Linked DNA regions of Homo sapiens: region 2 is linked to region 1. The links are contacts of gene promoters, found by promoter capture Hi-C in human tissues and cell types (Jung and others, 2019). All regions are on one chromosome and are shown on one strand. The core of a region is centred on a gene start or on the middle of the fragment in contact, and the rest is flanking DNA. Distances in the headings are between cores, read along the strand shown. Region 1 overlaps SPRYD3 (SPRY domain containing 3). Region 2 holds the start of PRR13 (proline rich 13).

Region 1 (6,880 bases), core at 380-2,879:
TTTTCTGCACCTCTGGGTTGCTTTTTTTTTTTTAATCTGTCAGTGTGTGTGATAATTATTGGTTGCATCATCTTTTTTTTTTTTTTTTTGAAATGGAGTCTCGCTCTGTCCCCCAGGCTGGAGTGCAGTGGCACCATCTCGGCTCACTGCAAGCTCCGCCTCCCGGGTTCACGCCATTCTCCTGCCTCAGCCTCCCGAGTAGCTGGGACTACAGGCGCCCGCCACCACGCCCGGCTAATTTTTTGTATTTTTAGTAGAGACGGGGTTTCACCGTGTTAGCCAGGATGGTTTCAATCTCCTGACCTTGTGATCCGCCCACCTCGGCCTCCCAAAGTGCTGGGATTACAGGCGTGAGCCACCACGCCCGGCTGGTTGCATCATCTTAAAAGTACCCTTGTGAGAATTAGGTGAGCTATGGAAAAGCAGGCCGGGTGGCAGCTCCGTCTTTCCCCCCACTGCAGGTGGGCTCTACCATCATGCCCATGTCCCCAGATGGACTGTTCCCAGCAGTGGGCATGCACTCCCTGGGTGAGGAGGTGCGGCTGCACCTCAACGCTGAGCTGGGCCGTGAGGACGACAGCGTCATGATGGTGGACAGTTACGAGGATGAATGGGGCCGGCTACATGATGTCAGAGTCTGTGGGACTGTAAGTAGCGGGTGGGAGGGTGGGAGGGGCTGGGTCGGAGGAGGCTGGGCAGAACACCTGTGGGCACATGGTCATGTCTGAATTGCTGGGAATGGGGAGTCGGGACAGTGTCCGTGTGGGGTTTGGCAAGATAGCCTAGGCTCTTGACATGAGTCCTTGAGTCCAGATCTGTGTTTTCTTTAGCACATGTTCTCTTTTCTTCACTTCCTCCTCTTCAGGGAACTCAGGTTCGCAGTTTGACCCTGGGAACAAGTAGTTCTGCTTTGCCTTTTTTGGTTCCTTCAGCTTCTGGTGTCTTCTACAGCCCTGCACAACTGCCTTTGAGGGGCTGGGGGTTGATCTGGAGGCAAAATGCCTGGCCCAGGCTTTTCATTCAAAGTGTTGTGGGGCAGGTGTGGTCAGAAGTCCACACATGTGGTGGAAGGTTCTTAGCCATCTTTTTTGAGGAAGTGTCAATGTCAGTTTCTATTGTCTTATCCCTGCATTTGATAGAGGATTAGAATGGAGGCAGATAAAGATTCAGTGAGCATCCTTACACCTCCAAACTTGCTTCATTTATCTTTTCCTCATACCTGCTTTAGTATGGATTTTAAGCTTCGTTGGGAAGCGTGTGGAGCTTGAGAAAGGGGAATTCTTCCTCCCCGGATTTTAAGTTTTGTTGGAAAATTCATGAACCTTGAGAAAGGAAAATTCTTCCTGTCTGCCTCAATACACTGTGCTGCATTGGGAGTGAATGGACGCCAAGTCCGGGATCTGGCCCTGACCTCTAGTGGGCTGCTCAGCCCTCCCACTTCGAATTGTCCCTCTCCTACCCCCTTGCTCCTGGCCTGGCCTTTTTCTCCACCCTCTGGCCTTTCCACCCCAACCCAGGCTGTTTTCAACTCAGTCTTTGATAACAAAACAGAAGCAGTGGGGGGTGGGAGCGGATTAGGAGCCAGGCCTCCCCCTGGTGGAGTGGAACTCAGGGAAAATGACAGGAAGTGTGCCCTCCTGCTGCTTCTGACACTCTGCACCCCCGTCTGGCATCAGGGTCCCAGGCTGCAGCGACCGAGAGCTAAGAGGCCTCAGATGCCCACTCCGTGACTCTCATGTCTTTCCTTTTTCCCCTCAATCTACCATCATTCTGACAACATCTACAGAGTTAAACTTGGGGCTGCGCCAGGGCGATGTTCCAGCTCTCATCTCTGACCTCTCCTCAAGAGTTTTTTCCTGGCATCCTTTCTCTGCCTGGACCTGTCCCCACTCTGCTCTCAGCTCCTCCCAGGCAATCTTTTCTAATTGATGCAGAATCCTGTAGACATTTATAAATAGCCTTCCTTCCTCCCCACCCTCCCCCCAACACCTTCAGCCACTTATTTAAGAGTGTTTTTCTTTTTTAGACATAAGCTGTTGAATTGGGCCCTTCTCTCAGACCCTCACCCCAGCTTGGGCCAGGTGGCAGGGTGGGAGCACTACTCCTGGGGCACCCGTTCCTCTGGGGCCAACTTGGATGTGAGCTTCCTGAGGGACATGTGCCTTTTTCCAGTCATGCCAACTTTCCTTTTTTTTTTTTTTTTTTTTTTAAGACAGGCTATCACTCTGTCACCCAGACTGGAGTGCTGGTTCACTTCAGCCTCCAACTCCCAGGCTCAAGGGATCCTCCCACCTTGGCCTCCCAAATTGCTGGGATTAGAGGCATGAGCCACTGCCCTGGGCCTCAACAGTTGTTAGATTTGAGTCTTTGGATATAGACAGACCTGGCTCTTTCTTGAGTGGAATTCTTCCCCTGCCTCCTGTGGCCTGTTTCCCCCTCCTAAAGAGTCTACCTCCTCAGAGCTCTGAGGGGTTGAGGAATTGCTGGGGCACTTGCCTCTCACCTCATCCCTGCCTCCAGGCCTCGCAAAGTGAGGTAATGTGGTGGAGGGGAGCTGGGGGCGGTAGGTAACAGCTGGGGGATTAGACTCATTCTGTGTTTGTGCCCTGTTCACAGCTCCTCTGACAACTCCTTAGTGACAGGGGCAACAGCTTTGGTACACACAGGGTGGTGAATGAGGCCCCGCCCTCCCAGGGGTCCTCCCCAGACCCAGCCCAGAGGGAGGCTGTGCTGGAGCCTGAGCTGGCCAGGAGAGTGTGTACTTGGTTCCTGTTTCAGTTGCTTCTGGGCCCTCAGGGCACTGAGCCCTTCCTTGCTCCTGTCAAGAGGGATTAGGGTCTCTGCTGGCAAGGGGAGGAGGGCGGATACCGGCAGGGGAGAAGAGGCTGGGAAGGTGCTACTGGTAGAGGGAGGGTGTGGAGTGCACGAGACTGTCCACACTCTGGTCTGCAGCCGCCACTCTGTGGCACTGAGTCATGTCTTTGGCTTCTTGGGGCTTTGGTGGTATGTGTGTATTAGGGGGAGACCCAAAGAAAGGGCTCCATCTTCCCCCACCAAAAATGCAGAGAAACATTTCTGTTGATTGGACATTGTTTGAGAGGAGACACATAGGGTAGAGTTGTCTGGGGAGTGGCCATCGTCCTGGTTGGCCTAAGGGACCATTGTAGTTGGAAGTAAGGGCTAAGATGAAAGATCATTTCCTTCTTTGTGATCGGCAATTCCAACGTAACCCCATTTACACTGATTTAGGGAGAGGCAGCAATGTGTATTGGTCACTTCATTAAGTCTTCCCACTTGTTTTTGGAAATTCAGGTAATCTTATCCCAGTTTACTGTTGAAGAAACCAAGGCTTAAGGAGGTGAATGTCATTTGCCTGAGGTTAGCGGCTGTTAAGTAATAGGAGTTAGGATTTGAACCCAGGTCTGTTGGATTCTGAGGTACAGGTTGAGGGACCAGCATCAAGATCCTAACAGTTCAGACTCTAAGGGTTAACCTTCACTCCTCCTCTAGGTTCCTAACAGCTATAGACCAAGGAGGCAGAGGAATGTACTCAAGAAAGAATCTGTCAGGGAGGCCAAATATTCCCCCCACTTCCACCCCTCTGAGTTCTCTGGGAAGGCTCAGGAGGGGTCGGGGGAGCTTTGTCCAGGAGCAGGAGAGTGGATCAGGAGGTTTATGATGGCTTTCACTGTGAGGGCTGGGCGGTCCCCTCTGAAGAGGGCACGCTGTACAAGCCTCACCTATACACTGTACAAGTACCTAGTCGTCCAGGACATCAGCATTCTGTCCGAAGTGCTCTGTGGTTGGCAGGTAGAGAGTGGGTTTTAAAGACCCATGTTGGGGTAGTCCGTCCTGGCTTTTAGCGTGAGAAAGCACCTCCACCCTATCCAGAGACAGAAATGCAGCAGCTACCCTCTTCTGAGCTGAGGCAAAGGGAGGGGCTGGCCGGGTATTTCCCAAGGATCAGGGTCTGGATCGGCTGTCTTTTGGCTCTGGAAATGGAGAACACTGTGTTTCCTACACCGAGGCCAGTTGGATAGAATGGGTCAAAGGCAGCTGTGGGGTCCCCCACCCAGTTCTGCAATGCTGGGTGGAGAGGGTGGGCTGGGGGCTGCTCTGCCTGGGTGGAGTCTAAACTAGTTAATGTGGATCAAGCCACACCCCTCCTGGCTTCCCGGGGAGAGAGGCAGAGGAGGAACCCAGGCTGAGCAGAGAATACACCATGAACAGAAGTCAAACAGTGTGGCCTTGGGGATGGGCTTAGGTGGTCTCCCGTGCATGCTGCTTTCCCCCTCATCCATCCCCAGTTATCTTTGGAGAGGAGGGAAGGATGGACTTGAGGTGGCGGGGCTGAGATCCAGGGCTGAGAAAGGCACCAAGCCCCTCTAGTCCTACTCTCAGAAGGGGTTAGTAGCACCCCGCTCTAAGCACCTGAGCTAAGCAGCGGCCGTCTGAGGCTGGGAGTGGGGATGCGGGAGCAGCCTCTGCTGGAGACACGCACAGGCTTCTGTGCTGGTGCAGGTGGGCATAATTCCTTTCCTGTTCAGGCAGGAATCTGTGAGAGGTGAGAGGCCGGCGTCCCAAAGCTTGCCAGGGAGACGTGGAGGAGGTCCCTAGGCAACATGTTTCCTTCAGGGCTGCAGGGGTGGGAGGGTAGAAGAAAGTCGTGAGGGGCAGTTGGGCTAATTAAAAGGAGATTAAGGAATCCCAGGTGAGGCCGAAGGTGGGGGAAAGAGGGGATGGGGTTGAGTCATCACCCCACTATTACCATGACAACTGACAAATAAATCCTCCCAGATTGGGGGTTGCCGCCCCGTCGTGCCCAGGCAGGACCATTGTGGGACTGAAGAGCCCCAAGAACCCATCAGTCATCTCCCCTATCCTACCTCCACGCCCCTACTCCAACTTGAATGAGCAATGAGGGGCTGGGAACAGCTAAGCCTGCCTCTGTCTTCATTTTGACCTCTCCTCTCCCTCACATGAAATGAGGGAGTAGAGCTGGGCGTTCTGGGTCCCTGGGCTCCCCTCAGCACCTCCCTGACCCAGCTAAGAACAGCTGTGTTCACAGCCAAGTAAAACAAGGACCTTGAGAAATTATGTCAGGCCCATCCCAGGCAGAATTGGCTTCTGAACTCACCCGCTTCCCCTGAATATCTGGGGTTGGCACCTAACTTCTGCATCCTCCCTGTCCCCATTAGGCCCCCTGAGAAAGTCATCAAGTTTCCTCTCAGCTAGTCTTGCTTCTCCTTTCCCCTGTGTTTGGGACCCTGGGCGGACCTTTCCCAGCAGGAAAGGCTGCAGGGTTTTTCAGCGGGCGAGGATGCATCTAGAGCCCCCTGGTGTGCCGCTCCCCTAGCTGTGCTGCTTTCCCCGGCCTCCCAGAAAGTGTGTGGGGGAAGACAGCGTGGGCATTCAGCAAGGGGTGCTCTCCCCTTTGCCTCCCACCCCATCCTGCTCTTCCATGCTGGCCTAGAACTTTGGGGCCACATTGTATCTCTAGGATTCTTTCCCTTTCAGCCAGGAGTTTTTGTCAGACCTGGGAAAGTGGGACCCAGACTGCCTTGGGCCCAGGTTTCCAGGGTGGGTGTCAGCCTGTCCCCTGACCCCCATCTGGCTCTTCCCCCACAGCTGCTGGAGTACTTAGGGAAGGGCAAAAGCATCGTGGATGTGGGGCTGGCCCAGGCCCGGCACCCACTCAGCACCCGCAGCCACTACTTCGAGGTGGAGATCGTGGACCCTGGAGAGAAATGCTACATCGCCCTGGGGCTGGCACGGAAGGTGGGCACAAAGGCTGAGCTTTTTTGCTCATGGAGCTGCTCAGGTCTGGGGCTGTTGGGGCAGCACCAGGAAGCTCTTAGGAGAAACCAGGGGAGCCCAGGCTTTGGAGGGAGGGTGCTAAGCTGAGATGGAACACAGTTGTATGTGTCTGCTGTGTAAGAGTACACACCCCATGTGACCAAGGACCTGAGACAGGTCATGACTGCACCACACACTAAGGCCTGGGGGGAGGGGGTGGGACATGCCATGGCTCTGGCCTTAAAAGCTTAACTAACACTTTCCTCACCCTCCCTGGTTCCCCTGAAGCCCCAGTGCCTGCAGGGTATGAGTGTGCAGGGTTGGCACTCTCTGGGCTGTGGTCTGTCCCAGAGGTTCAGATGCTACTCGCCACTCTCTCCTGTCTTGTTTATGCATGGGACCATAGATTTTCTTTTCTCTTCTTGGTGCAGGACTATCCCAAGAACAGGCACCCTGGCTGGAGCAGAGGGTCTGTGGCTTATCATGCAGGTGAATAGCGGGCTGCCTGGGAAAGGTGGGATGGTGGGAGATGTGGAGGCATAGGGACATCCACTTTCCCCTCTCCTGGCCCCTCACAAATGGCCTTGCTGTTTGCCCTGCTGCTGGCTGACCTCCCCTTCCCAAATCGCTAGTGCTTCCTCCTCATCTGTGTTTTCCTCCCAGCTCTGGAAACCAGGGGAGCAGGACAGGAGAGGGAGATCTGGGCCCAGATGGGACATTCCAGGCCTCTGAGCTGGTCCCCCCGTGCCCTTCCTGCAGACCCTCATTTCCTCATTTTCTTTTTTCTTTTGCTGCTTGGTTTCCTTGGCTTTCTTTAGAAGAAAACTGAGCCTAGAGTTCCTCGACCCACCTCCCCCTGCCTGCCCTCCCTGGGTGTTCATTCCTTCCCTAGGGCCCCCTCCTCTGACTCATTTCCTAAGGGTTCTCCCTTACCCTTACCTTGAGCAGATGGATACTACGTCTCTTTATTTTATTTGGTGCCCCCTTCCCATATATCTCGCTCCAATTTTTTTTTTTTTTTTTTTTTGAGATGGAGTCTCACTCTGTCACCTAGACTGGAGTGCAGTGGCATGATCTTGGCTCA
Region 2 (6,880 bases), core at 1,566-4,065, 370 kb before region 1:
GACCATCTTGGCTAACACGGTGAAACCCCATCTCTACTAAAAATACAAAGAATTAGCCGGGCGCGGTGGCGGGCGCCTGTAGTCCCAGCTACTCGGGAGGCTGAGGCAGGAGAATGGCGTGAACCTGGGAGGCGGAGCTTGCAGTGAGCCGAGATTGTGCCACTGCAATCTGGCCTGGGCTAAAGAGCGGGACTCCGTCTCAAAAAAAAAAAAAAAAAACCTCCTTAGTCCTAGGCTTTGTTAGAAGCCTAGTCACTGACTGCTCTTGTCCTCACTTTTTCTGCTGGATGATAGGGCAAAGGACCCATGTAATTAACACAACGCCCTAAGAACACTGATGAAAGAGAGAAGGAACTTCTGGAACTAGGGACAGATTAATTCTGTTAATTATTATAAGACCTTGCTTTGTCAAAGGAATGACTTTGGTATTTTGACAATGTCAGTGGGCGTGTCCAACTTGCTAGAATATGCACCTGGCGGGAGGGGAGCAAAAGTTCTGGGAGAGTAGGGCAGAAAAGATTTGGCTTTTGATTCTAAAATCCATTCTAAGGCTCACCCTAACTCCCCCCAGATAGGAGAAGCCTGATGTTTATTTTCAAGATAATCAGATTCTTCCCAGTAGCAATCTTTTATAAAAAGGAAGAATCATCTACCAGAGCGACACAATTGTCATCCCTCACGTCCACAGAATGTGAATCCCCCTCACCCAACCCCTGCCTACCTAGTCCCTCTGAGGGGGGACTCCTTCCCTAGCCAGTCTCCAGAGGGTACTGACCTTGCCATGCTTGTGGTACTTGTGGTGCTTTTGGTGCTTGTGCATCTTTTTATGAGCTTTCTTCATTTTCTTCTGCATCTTCTTGTCTACTATCACTGCTGGTCCAACCATGCCAGGAGCCAAGGGATTCACAGGAGGGATTCCAGGGGCAGGCGGTGGGTATGGAGGAGGGTAGGGACCCAACGGTTGGCATCCTGGATACCCTGGCTGTGGCACAGGATGAGGGGGCCCACCTGGGGGGAAAGCTGGATTGCCATGGGGAGCTCCTGGGGGAGGAGGACAGGGGCCTGGGGGAAAGGGTGGATTAATAGGTGGTGGGTGGGCAGGATTGGAACCTCCAGGGCACCCAATATTGGGGGGATATGGATTTGGCCCTGGCTGCCCTGGTGGAAGAAGCAGAGAATAAACATTAGAATTCCCCAGAGTCTCCAACAACAAACAACAAAAAGAAAGAGATTCTTTCTCACTCAATACTTAAAGGGAAACGGAAAGATGACAAAGAAGAATGGAGGGTAGGGGAGACAAACTTGAGTTGGGGAGAAAAGGGGGAATGTCCCTGGAAGGGCTAGGGAGAGGAGGGAGACAGTGAACTCTGAGGAAGACAAAAGCACTGGTCAGTCCAGGCGCGGTGGCTCACGCCTGTAATCCCAGCACTTTGGGAGGCCGAGGTGGACAGATCTCATGAGGCCATGAGTTTGAGACCAGCCTGGCCAAATTGTGAAACCCCCATCTCTACTAAAAATACAAAAAGTAGCCGGGCGTGATAGCATGCGTCTGTAATCTCAGCTACTCCAGAGGCTGAAACAGGAGAATCGCTTGAACCCAGGAGGCGGAGGTTGCAGTGAGCCTGGGCAACAGAGACTCCATCTCAAAAAATAAATAAATTAAATTAAATTAAAAAGCACTGGTCAGCTCTAGACTAAGGACTTTGCTTTTGCGGGTACAGCAGGTCGGGGGTAGGGGAGCTGATACAGAAACTTCCTGTTATAGAGCCCATCAGAAAAAGGGTTAGGGGTGGAACAGAACCCCCAAACACCTACCGGCATTGGGATTCCACATGTTTAGGTGTGTCCTCCAGCCTGAGGAGAAAGAAATGAGGCAAAAAAGATGACGGTCTAGAGGTAGGAAGTGGACTTAGCACCGGAGCCCAGCCCTAACGTCTTCCACCCCACAGTAGGCTCTCCTACCTGGAGAACTACCACAACTTCCACATAAGAAATGTCTCTTTTCTGGCTGGGCGCGGTGGCTCACGCCTGTAATCCCAGCACTTTGGGAGGCCGAGGCGGGTGGATCACGAGGTCAAGAGTTCGAGACCAGCCTGGCCAACATCGTGAAACCCCGTCTCTACTAAAAATCTAAAAATTAGCCGGGCGCGGTGGCGGGCACCTGTAATCCCAGTTATTCGGGAGGCTGAGTCAGGAAAATTGCTTGAACCCGGGAGGCAGAGGTTGCAGTGAGCCGAGACCGCGCCACTGCACTCTAGCCTGGGCGACGGAGCAAGACACCGTCTCAAAAAGAAAAGAAAAGAAAAGAAATGTCTCTTTCCACTTGTTTCTTCGCCCTCAATACCTACTTGGTTCCTAACACAGGAATCTAGTTCCCAGGGCCCCTCCACCCAGGTGGAAGCGTCTAACTCTTCGGAAGTAGGCAGTACCCGCGAGTCTCGGCCCCACCATCACTCATCTCCCTTTCCCTGGAACTGAGTACGGAGGCCTTTAACCACGCACAGAGTAAGAAAGGATCTCAAACAACTTTCTCTCTCCCTGGGGAGGACCCCACCTCAGGCTAAAAAAAGGATACGCCTCGAGGCGAAGTAAGAAGGAAGTTGCCCAAGAACCTCAAATACTTAAATATGTGGACACAGCCCCCTTCCTCCAAAAAAGAAAAAAGGCAAATGAAGATCCTAGCCCCAAGCTGCGAAGAGACTCTTGACCTAGCAAGGGGAAAAGGAAAAACCTATGGAATCCAGATACCCCATCACCTTTCCACCGCCGCCTGGGCTTGCTGCGTTCTCCTTCGCAGTCTCGGCTCTTCCTAGTCACCCAGACCCCGTGCTTCGGCACCCGCCTCTGCTACTGCCTAATTGGTAATTATGTGGCCGCTCGACTGATGATTAGACAACAAACTAATCAATCACTCTGGTCCGACTGAGGAGGAAACGGTTGCTCTAGGGGCGGAGCGGAGCCCTTTACGGCTAGGCCAGTACCGAGAAGCCGGAAATCTCCTGGGGGCGGGGCTAGGCGGAGAGCGCTGGAGGGGGCGGGGCCAGCTGCTGGGCAAAGTCCTAGAGACACCGAGAAGAAACTCTTCCCTTGCTCTCTTACCTCATGGTTCACTGGGTGCAATACCTTGTAAAATGAATACACTATGGTAAGTGTTGTAATACAGATATAGACAGAGTTCTCGGCAAGGGCAGAAGAGCTGCTGAGTCCCAGCCCCAAGCCTCAATGTTCCCGGCTCCGTCTTACACTCGCAAGGGAAGCAAACAAACATTCTTGCGGAAGATACAGAGATTTCATAATCTCTCCCAGGATTCCCTCTCTCAATTGCATAGCTCCGCCATCTGTCAAGTAGCCTAAACCAGAAACCAAGGAGGGCGTCCGTGATCCCTCTGCCTCCTTCACCTCCCTTACCCCAAATTATCAGTTTTGTCTCTCAAATATATCTGGAATCTCTCCACTTCTCTCTGTCTTCCCTGCTCCAAACCTCCCATCATCTGTCGCCTGGATTCATCTCTCCCCTGAATTGCTACAATGGCCTCCCTACAATGGCCTCCCTTTTTTTTTTTTTTTTTTTTTTTGAGACGGAGTCTCGCTCTGTCACGAGGCTGGAGTGCAGTGGTGCGACCTCGGCTCACTGCAACCTCCGCTTCCCGGGTTCAAGCGATAATCCTGCCTCAGCCTCCGAAGTAGCTGGGACTACAGACGCGGCTAATTTTTCTATTTTTTAGTAGAGATGGGATTTCACCATGTTGGCCAGGATGGTCTCGCTCTCTTGACTTCGTGATCTGCCCGCCTCGGCCTCCCAAAGTGCTGGGATTATAGGCGTGAGCCACCGTACCCAGCCTTTAAAAAAAAAAAAAAAATACAAGTGGCCGGGCGCAGTGGCTCACGCCTGTAATCCCAGCACTTTGGGAGGCCGAGGCAGGCGGATCACAAGGTCAGGAGTTCGAGACCAGCCTGGCCAATATGGTAAAACCCCGTTTCTACTAAAAATACAAAAATTAGCCGGGCGTGGTGACATGTGCCTGTAATCCCAGCCACTTGAGAGGCTGAGGCAGGAGAATCGCTTGAACCCGGGAGGTTGCAGTGAACCGAGATCACGCCATAGCACTCCAGCCTGGGCAACAGAGCGAGACTCCATCTCAAAAAAAAAAAGAAAGAAAGAAAGAAAGAAAGTGAGCTAGGCATGGTGGCACATACCTGTAATCCCAGCTAGTGGGAAGGCTGAGGCATGAGAATCGCTTGAACCTGGGAGGGAGAGGGTGCAGTGAGCCAAGATCATGCCACTGCACTCCAGACTAAGCAACAGAGCAGGACTCTGTTTCAAAAAAAAAAAAAAAAAAAAGTGGGATACAAAAAAATTTAAGACAATAAATTTTATGCCAAATATGTCATATTAAACTAAAGCATTTGAAATATTTTAAACTTTTTTTCTTTTAATTTTTATTTTTAGTGCTGGGGTACATGTGCATGATGTGCAGGTTTGTTACATAGTTAAATGTGTGCCATGCTGGTTTGCTGCACAAATTTTGCTGCACCAATAAACCCATCAGCTAGGTATTAAGCCCAGCATGCATTAGCTATTTTTCCTAATATTCTCACTCCCCTGACCCTACCCCCCAACAGGCCCCAGTGTGTGTTGTTCCCCTCCTTGTGTCCATGTGTTCTTACTGTGTAGCTCCCACTTGAGTGAGAACATGTTCCTGCATGAGTTTGCTGAGGTTAATGGCTTCCAGCTTCATCCATGTCCCTATAAAGGACATGATCTCATTCCTTTTTATGGCTACATAGTATTCCATGGTATATATGTACCACAGTTTTTCAGTCTATTGTTGATGGGCATTTGGATTAATTCCATGTCTTTGCTATTGTGAATAGTGCTACAGTGAACATACACATGCATGTATGTTTGTAATAGAATGATTTATATTCCTTTGGGTATACACCCAGTAATGAGATTGCTGGGTCAAATGGTATTTCTGGTTCTAGATCTTTGAGGAATCGCCACATCGTCTTCCACAATGGTTGAACTAATTTACACTCCCACCAACAGTGTAAAAATGTTCCTATTTCTCCACAACCTTGCCAGCATCTGGATTTTGGTTTTGGGTTTTTTTTTTTTTTTGAGACTGAGTCTTGCTCTGTCGCCCAGGCTGAAGTGCAGTGGCAGGATCTCAGCTCACTGCAACCTCTGCCTCCCGGGTTCAAGCGATTCTCCTGCCTCAGCCTCCCGAGTAGCTAGAATTACAGGTGCCTGCCGCCACACCTGCCATATATATATACATATATATATTTGTATTTTTAGTAGAAACAGGGTTTCACCATGCTGGCCAGGGTGGTTTCAAACTCCTGACCTCAAGTGATTCACTCACCCTTGGCCTCCCAAAGTGCTAGGGTTACAGGCATGAGCCACCAGGCCTGGCCTGTTATTTCTTGACTTTTTAATAATCACCATTCTGACTGGCATGAGATAGTATCTCATTATGGTTTTGATTTACATTTCTCTAATGTTCAGTGATGTTGAGCTTTTTTTCATGTTTGTTGGCTGCATATCTTCTTTTTTTTTTTTTTTTTTTTTTTTTTTGAGACGGAGTCTCTCTCTGTCGCCCGGGCTGGAGTGCAGTGGCGGGATCTCGGCTCACTGCAAGCTCCGCCTCCCGGGTTCACGCCATTCTCCTGCCTCAGCCTCCCAAGTAGCTGGGACTACAGGCGCCCGCCACTACGCCCGGCTAATTTTTTGTATTTTTTAGTAGAGACGGGGTTTCACCGTTTTAGCCGGGATGGTCTCGATCTCCTGACCTCGTGATCCGCCCGCCTCGGCCTCCCAAAGTGCTGGGATTACAGGCGTGAGCCACCGCGCCCGGCCGGCTGCATATCTTCTTTTGAGAAATGTCTGTTAATGTCCTTTGCCCCCCCCTTTTTTTTTTGAGACGGAGTCTCGCCCTGGCCCCGTTGTCCAGGCTGGAGTGCAGTGGCACGATCTTGGCTCACTGCAAGCTCCGCCTCCCAGGTTCGCACCATTCTCCTGCCTCAGCCTCCCGAGTAGCTGGGACTACAGGCACCCGCCACCGTGCCTGGCTAATTTTTTATATTTTTAGTAGAGACGGGGTTTCACCCTCTTAGCCAGGATGATCTTGATCTCCTGACCTCGTGATCCGCCCGCCTCGGCCCCCCAAAGTGCTGGGATTATAGGCGTGAGCCACCGCACCTGGCCTTTTGCCCACTTTTTTTTTTTTTTTCCTATCTCTTTTTTTTTTTTTTTTTTAATTGATCATTCTTGGGTGTTTCTCGCAGAGGGGGATTTGGCAGGGTCATAGGACAATAGTGGAGGGAAGGTCAGCAGATAAACAAGTGAACAAAGGTCTCTGGTTTTCCTAGGCAGAGGACCCTGCGGCCTTCCCCAGTGTTTGTGTCCCTGGGTACTTGAGATTAGGGAGTGGTGATGACTCTTAACGAGCATGCTGCCTTCAAGCATCTGTTTAACAAAACACATCTTGCACCGCCCTTAATCCATTTAACCCTGAGTGGACACAGCACATGATTCAGAGAGCACCGGGTTGGGGGTAAGGTCATAGATCAACAGCATCCCAAGGCAGAAGAATTTTTCTTAGTACAGAACAAAATGGAGTCTCCTATGTCTACTTCTTTCTACACAGACACAGCAACAATCTGATTTCTGTATCTTTTCCCCACATTTCCCCCTTTTCTATTCGACAAAACCGCCATCGTCATCATGGCCCGTTCTCAATCAGCTGTTGGGTACACCTCCCGGACGGGGTGGCGGCAGGGCAGAGGGGCTCCTCACTTCCCAGAAGGGGCGGCCGGGCAGAGGCACCCCCCACCTCCCGGACGGGGCGGCTGGCCGGGCGGGGGCCGCCCCCCA

The links. The method cuts DNA at HindIII sites, captures the fragments that hold promoters and counts their contacts. A contact is called where the count stands out against the background at its distance.
Region 2: the fragment with the promoter of PRR13 here is called in contact with a fragment that was not itself captured in region 1 in 1 of the 25 tissues and cell types used here (dorsolateral prefrontal cortex).

What each region holds. Positions count from the first base shown.
Region 1 is chr12:53,067,053-53,073,932 of GRCh38, reverse strand. It overlaps SPRYD3 (SPRY domain containing 3), which reads left to right. Exons shown (of 11, transcript NM_032840.3): 6 at 462-647; 7 at 5,629-5,778; 8 at 6,228-6,285. Among named protein-coding and RNA genes, the nearest start is that of SPRYD3, 8.9 kb to the left of the region's middle. RefSeq lists enhancers at 1,050-1,550, 1,374-1,668, 1,551-2,051. The HindIII fragment of the contact is 7,372 bases long and covers 1-5,315 here.
Region 2 is chr12:53,437,669-53,444,548 of GRCh38, reverse strand. It overlaps PRR13 (proline rich 13), which reads right to left and starts at 2,815. Exons shown (of 4, transcript NM_018457.4): 1 at 2,757-2,815; 2 at 1,816-1,854; 3 at 776-1,158. The coding sequence starts at 1,834. RefSeq lists a silencer at 2,818-2,967 and enhancers at 3,258-3,347, 3,078-3,843. The HindIII fragment of the contact is 13,829 bases long and covers 1-6,880 here.